Linked DNA regions of Homo sapiens: region 2 is linked to region 1. The links are contacts of gene promoters, found by promoter capture Hi-C in blood cells and fetal thymus (Javierre and others, 2016). All regions are on one chromosome and are shown on one strand. Each heading gives the region's core, a stretch centred on a gene start or on the middle of the fragment in contact. The rest is flanking DNA. Distances are from core to core; before and after follow the strand shown.

The links. The method cuts DNA at HindIII sites, captures the fragments that hold promoters and counts their contacts. A CHiCAGO score of 5 or more calls a contact.
Region 2: a contact is called between a fragment that was not itself captured here and the fragment with the promoter of IKZF1 in region 1, in 1 of 17 cell types (total B cells). The highest score is 5.8, in total B cells.

What each region holds. Positions count from the first base shown.
Region 1 is chr7:50,303,140-50,306,433 of GRCh38, reverse strand. IKZF1 (IKAROS family zinc finger 1) reads right to left here and starts at 1,718. Exons shown (of 8, transcript NM_006060.6): 1 at 1,512-1,718. RefSeq lists a silencer at 1,606-2,405 and an enhancer at 3,260-3,294. The HindIII fragment of the contact is 6,071 bases long and covers 1-3,294 here.
Region 2 is chr7:47,684,349-47,687,642 of GRCh38, reverse strand. No RefSeq gene overlaps it. Among named protein-coding and RNA genes, the nearest start is that of LINC02902, 31 kb to the right of the region's middle. The HindIII fragment of the contact is 4,190 bases long and covers 1-3,294 here.

The DNA of each region.
Region 1 (3,294 bases), core at 469-2,968:
TTTCTAAACTCCTTCCTTCAACTCTCACCGTGAAACAAAAGGGGAAGAAAACATGACCATTTAGTTCAATAAAATGTTCTGGTCACCAGCTCTGATTGACTGTGAGACTTAAGAGTCACGTTTTTTTTCATGTAAAAAATGTATGAAATATGTTCATGGTGAAATTGGAAATCAGATACATTCCATCAAGCAAGAATAGTGTAGTATTTTTAATGTGACATCATTATTTGTATGTGTACACATTATTTCTTTAACTTGTTCTGCATTTTACAAGATGCCAGCGTAAGAAGGTGAATCTTCTTGTCATGAATATTTGCCTCGTGTACATTTTAAGCCATAGCCCAAATGATCTGATTTGTCACGGAAATAATTCTGACACATTCTAATATAAATAATACTGAAATTGTTACTTTTTAAAATTCCATATAAAAGATGAGTACAATAAAACTCATTGAACAAACATCTTCAAACAAAGAAATAAACTCAAGAGGACCCAGGACATTTCTATGTGGGTCCCCCCCACCCCTCGACTCATAACCAAATTGAACCTGGCCTTAAAAGCATTTGAATGTCTATGAAAGTTTAAATATCATACGCAGTATTTTCAAATTCCATAAATTTTCCTCTTTTAACAGAAGTTGATGGGACTAGTAAGGAGACATTTCCTCAACACCATTTTGTCTGGAATTTTAAAACAAGGTATCTCAAAGCTGAAATATACTGCCTGCGGCGCAGTGGGAAATTGTGAGTGGGTAACCTAAGCAAAGCGCACCGCATTGAAATTCAGTCTGGGTGGGCTGCAGTCCCTAGAGAGAGGGAAGCTGCATTTGAAAGCTGTGCCTGGTCAGACCCTATGGAATCGCTACGGTTTTCGGTCATTAGATGCCTCCAAATTAGAAGGAAAAACAAGCCCTCACGAGGTTCCTTAGGCATCAGCAGCGATGCTTGACAAATATTTAAAATACATTTCAAATATAACCGCAAGTAACCTGATGCCTTAATATTACTAAGGGTTTTCCTGAGAAGGTTTGGTGACTTGAGCGTCAAACCTGCGGTCAGCAAAAGGACTAACTTTTCAAAGCCGGGATAATTCCTCTCTTGCAGAAATTAAGTTCAGACTCGATCTCATCATATTTATAGTATAAAAAGAAAGCTCCCGGCTCAAATATAAGGAAAACTCTTTACACACGACTTTATAAAGGCTGACTTCCGTGGGTATATGTAGGTCTACATAAATTTAAATATGGTTGGGAGCTAGAACTCCTCTCCTGGTGACAGCGGGGCTGCTCAGAAGTGTCCCATGTCGGCCTGGTCCTGCACCTGCTGGCACAGTGCAGAGCAACAGACGCTTGACAGAAGTGAACTCTCTCACTGTCCTCAGAAAAGAGAGGCGGACCTGAGCGACACCAGGGTCTACCAACCTTACCGCTTTTCTTTACTGTGTTTTTTTTTTTTTAAATTCACCAGTTACCCCAAGTTTTCCTATTGAAATTCAATTTGAAAACACTCACGTGGATTTGTGCGTCGCGCTTTGGGGCCAAGACTGATCCTCGGGTGCGAAGAGCAACCTCGGAGCCGGGGCTCCCTCTGCCCTGCCAGGCTTGCCCGCCTCGCCGCGGCCGAGCGTCCCGCCCAGGCTGGGATGCGCCGCGCGGGGACCCAGGGGGCTTGCCGCAGTCACCGCCCCGGGCGCGGGCCGCGCAGTCACTTGTTAGAGTGTCCTGCTAACTTGGCCGCGGAGCTCTTCCCAGCTTTCTTTCACAATGACTTCCTGAAGTTGCTCACTCGCATTGTTCCCCATTTCTCCGCCACACTCCCCGCCCCCAGCCGGCTCAGACCAGGCTTTCGCGCTCCCGGCCGACCGGCTGCCCCGCGCGCACAGCGCCGCCCGCGGGCCCCGTACCTGGCCCCCTCCGCGCCGGCCGCCCCCGCCGCGCCCTTGCGTTGCCACCAGCTGCCGCCCAGAGCGGCGGGTGGCCAGAGCGCGCGCCCTGCCACCCCGCAAACTTTGGGGTGACGCACGCTGGCGGTCCCTGCTCGACCTGCCCCGCAGCCGGCTCGGCCCCGCGCGCACCTCTCGGCCGCCTCCCGGATCGCTGCTCCGGTACAGGGAGCGGGGCGCGCAGAAGGGCGCAGAGCGGGACACGGAGAGGGTGCGTCGTCCCGTCCCCGCCCCGTCGCCGAGTCCCCCGGCTCGCGCGGCGCGCGTCTCAGCCGCAACTCCGGGCCAGAGGGGCCGCGCACGAAAACTTTGCAATCGCGCCGGGCTCCGGCTCAGCCCCCAAAGGCCGCCGGGGCGGCGGCGGGTGCGGGCCGTACCTGCTGGCGCCGCCGCCGGCTGCAGCCCGCTCGCCCGCGCCGGGCCCGCTCGGCGCGCCGCCGCCACCCCCGCGCGCACCGCGCCCGGGCCCTCCCCTCGCCGCCGCGCTTCCTCATTCCAGCGCAGCATCGCGCCGCGGCCCCGCACGGGATGCGGCGGCCGGCGCTGTGTCCGCGGGCCGGGCAGCCCGGCTCGGCCGCGGCGCTGCGGGACCCGCGCGTAACCCGTGGGGGCGCGGCGCGGGCGACACGTGCGGGCCGCCAGGAGGGGGAGGGGGACGCGCGCCGCCGGGCCCGCCACCCTGCACCCGGGGCCGCTGGTCGGTCGGGGCACCCTCACGCTCGCCCCGCTGGCGAGACTGGAGGGACTCGGGACATCGTAAAGCACTTTCCCCAGTGTCTGGGAGCGCCCGCTGTACGCTCAGCTTCACGTCCCTGGAACTGGGGCCCCTTGGCTCCCGGGTTCAGGCTCCGGCCCCAGGATGCGAGTGCCCACCCGAGGGGGTGGGAAAAGTTGATCCTCCGCAAGGGAGGGGAAGGTGCAATTCATTTTCCCAGACAACCAATGGAATACCTCTCGTCTCTCTTCCCTCCCACCTGCTCACGGCAGAAGTTAGGATGGCGCCTTCCATGTTGGCCTGGGTGCACACACAAGTGCGTGCGGAAGGGTGGCTGCAGGCGGAGGTGACAGCGAAGCAATCCCGCAGCCCGCTCGACGGCTCTTTGCGTCTCAGACCTCTCCCTGGCGTGTAAGACACCGTGTGTCTCCGTAAAACGGGAATGCCACATCTGACAGCGCACCCCTTCGCCCTACGGGGAGCCCCTCACTCTAATTAGCCGGGCTCCACCCGAGCAGGAGCCAGCAATGTGTTCAGCTTGAGCAGGAGAGAAAAAGTCATGAATTCCACAAATGCAGCCTGGGCTCCCGCCAGGCGCTAGGGGAGGGGACCCAGAGGAGTGAGATGCGCCTCCTGC
Region 2 (3,294 bases), core at 431-2,930, 2.6 Mb after region 1:
TTAATTTTTTGTATTTTTAGTAAAGATGGGATTTCACCATGTTGGCCAGACTGGTCTCGAACTCCTGACCTCGTGATCTGCCCACCTTGGCCTCCCAAAGTGCTGGGATTACAGGTGTGAGCCACCACACCTGGCCCTATGCTATACTTTTATAATAACTTTAGAGTGTAGTCTTACTTATGCAAAAAAGAAGTTAACTGCAAAGCAGGCTCAGGTAGGCCCTTCAGGAGGTATCGAAGGAGACACTGCTATTGCAGGAAACGACAGCTCCATGTGTGTTAGTCCCTGAAGACCTTCCTGTGGGACAAGACGTGGAGGTAAAGGACCGTGACATTGATGCTCCTTACCCTGTGTAGGCCCAGGCTAATATGTGTGTTTTTGTCTTCATTTTTAACATAAAACTTTAGAAAGTAAAAAATAAATAAGTAAATAACTAGAAACAGAAATAGAAAAAAAAACTTACAGAATAAGGATATAAAGAAAAAAATATTTTTGTACAGCTATGCAATGTGTTTGTGTCTTGGGCTAAGTGTTATTACAAAAGCATCAAAACGTTTAAAAAACCAGGCCAGGTGTGGTGGCTCACACCTGCAATCCCAGCACTTTAGAAGGCCGAGGCGGGTGGATCACTTGAGGTCAGGAGTTCAAGACCAGCCTGGCCATGGTGAAACCCTGTCTCTACTAAAAATACAAAAATTGGCCGGGTGCAGTCACTCATGCCTGTGATCCCAGCACTTTGGGAGGCAGAGGCAGGTGGATCACAAAGTCAGGAGTTCAAGACCAGCCTGGCTGAGATGGTGAAACACTGTCTCTACTAAAAATACAAAAAAATTAGCCAGGCGAGGTGGCAGGCGCCTGTAATCCCAGCAACTCAGGAGGCTGAGGCAGGAGAATCGCTTGAACTCGGAGGGTAGAGGTTGCAGTGAGCCGAGATCGTGCCACTGCACTCCAGCCTGGGCGACAGAGGGAGACTCCGTCTCAGAAAAAAAAAAAAAAAAAAAAAAAGCCAGGCATGGTGGCGAGTGCCTATAATCCCAGCAGGAGAATCCCTTGAGCCCACGAGGCACAGGCTGCAGTGAGTTGAGATTGCCCCACTGCACTCCAGCCTGGGAGACAGAATGAGACTTCATCTCAAAAAAAAAAAAGTTTAAAAAATCAAAAAGTTTATGAAGTAAAAAGGTTACAGTAAACTGAGCTTAATTTATTATTAAAGAAAGAAAAGTATTTTTTAATGAGTTTAGTGTAGCCTAAGTGTTTATAAAGTGTGTAGTAGTGCATAGTAATGGCCTAGGCCTTCACATTCACTCACCACCTACTCATTGACTCACCAAGAGCAACTTCCAGTCCTGCAAGCTCCATTCCTGGGAAGTGCCCTACACAGATGTACCATTTTTTATCTTGTATGCTATATTTTTACTGCAGCTTTTCTATGTTCAGATATATTTAGATGCACAAATACTTCCCATTGTGTTACAGTTGCCTTCAGTATTCAGTATAGTACAGGCTGCACAGGTGTGTAGCCTAGGAGCAATAGGCCATACCATACAGCATGAGTGTGTTGTAGGCTAGTCCATCTAGTTTTGTATAAGTCCACTCTGACATATACGCAATGATGAAATCATCTAACAATGCACTTCTCGGAACATATCCTTATCATTAAGGGACACACGACTATGTCTCCTGGCATTGACAGTCTTATCCAAGCTCTTATCCAAGCCCCCCTCCCCCCATCCTGAAACTACAGATGATACCAAACGGAATTGCTGTTAATTGTAACATGTTAGCTGGGTGAGGTGGCTCACCCCTGTAATCCCAGCACTTTGGGAGGCCAAGGCAGGCAGATGACTTGAGGTCAGGAGTTCAAGACCAGCCTGGTCAACGTAGCAAAACCCTGTCTCCACTAAAAATACAAAAATTAGCCAGATGTGGTGGCATGTGCCTGTAATCTCTGCTACTGGGGAGGCTGAGGCAGGAGAATCACTTGAACCGGAGAGGCAGAGATTGCAGTGAGCTGAGATTGCACCACTGTACTCCAGCCTGGGTAACAGAGTGAGACTCTGTCCCCCACCAAAAAAAAAAAAAAAAAAAATTGTAACAAGTTTCTGTTTAAGTCTTCCACGGGCAAATGTGATGCCTTTCCAATCTTAATATATCACACACTGTGGCTGCAACTGTTGCAGTCTGAAGCACAACAGCAAAGCTAGCACAAACTTCTTTTACCTTCTTTGCAATTTCATGGATAGGCAGTTTCTAAGGTGATTTCTTACAAAACTAAGCATATTCTTGTCATGCGATCTAGCAATTGAGCTTCTTGGCATTTACCCAAAAGAGCTGAAAACCTAAAAACCTGTACACAGATGTTTACAGCAGTTTTATCTATAATTGCCAAAATTTGGAAGCAGCCAAGATGTCCTTCAGTAAGTGAATGGATACATAAACTATAGTCCATCTAGACAATAAAATATTATTCAGCGCTAAAAGGAAAGAAACTATCAAGCCAAGAAGAGACACAGAGGAACCCCAGATGCATACTGCAGAGTGAAAGAAGTCCATCTGAACAGGCTACATACTGTATGATTCCAGCTCTGTGACGTTTTGGAAAAGGCAAAACTATGAAGACAATAAAAAGATTAGGGGTTTGGGGGAGGGATAAATAGGTGGCGCAGAGGGGACTTTTAGGGCAGTGAAACTACCGTATGATATACTCTAATGGTGAGTGCATGACATTACACATTTGTTAAAACCAATAGAATATACAACACCAAGAACAGACCCTAAAGTAAACCATGGACCTTGAGTGTTAAGGATGGGTCAGTGCAGATCCGTCAGTTATAACGAAAGCCTCACTCTGGTGGAGGGTGTTGATAAAAAGGCAGCTGTTGGGCAGGAGCAATATGGGAACTTTCTGTACCATCTGCTCAATTTTTCTGTAAAACTAAAACTGTTATAGAAAATAAAGTGTATTAATTTTTTTTTTTTTAAAGACAAGGTCTCACTCTCTTGCCCAGGCTGGAGTGCAGTGGTGCGATCTCGGCTCACTGCAACCTCTGCCTCCCGGGTTCAAGTGATTCTCCTGTCTCAGTCTCCTGAGTAGCTGGGATTACAGGCACCCGCCACATGCCCAGCTAATTTTTGTAATTTTAGTAGAGACGTGGCTTCACCATGTTGGCCAGGCTGGTCTCGAACTCCTGACCTCAAGTGGTCCGCCCACCTCCACCTCCCAAGGTGCTGGAATTACAAGTGTGAGCCACCACGCCTGGCCTATTAATTTTTTTAAGAAGCAAAGTCCTTGGA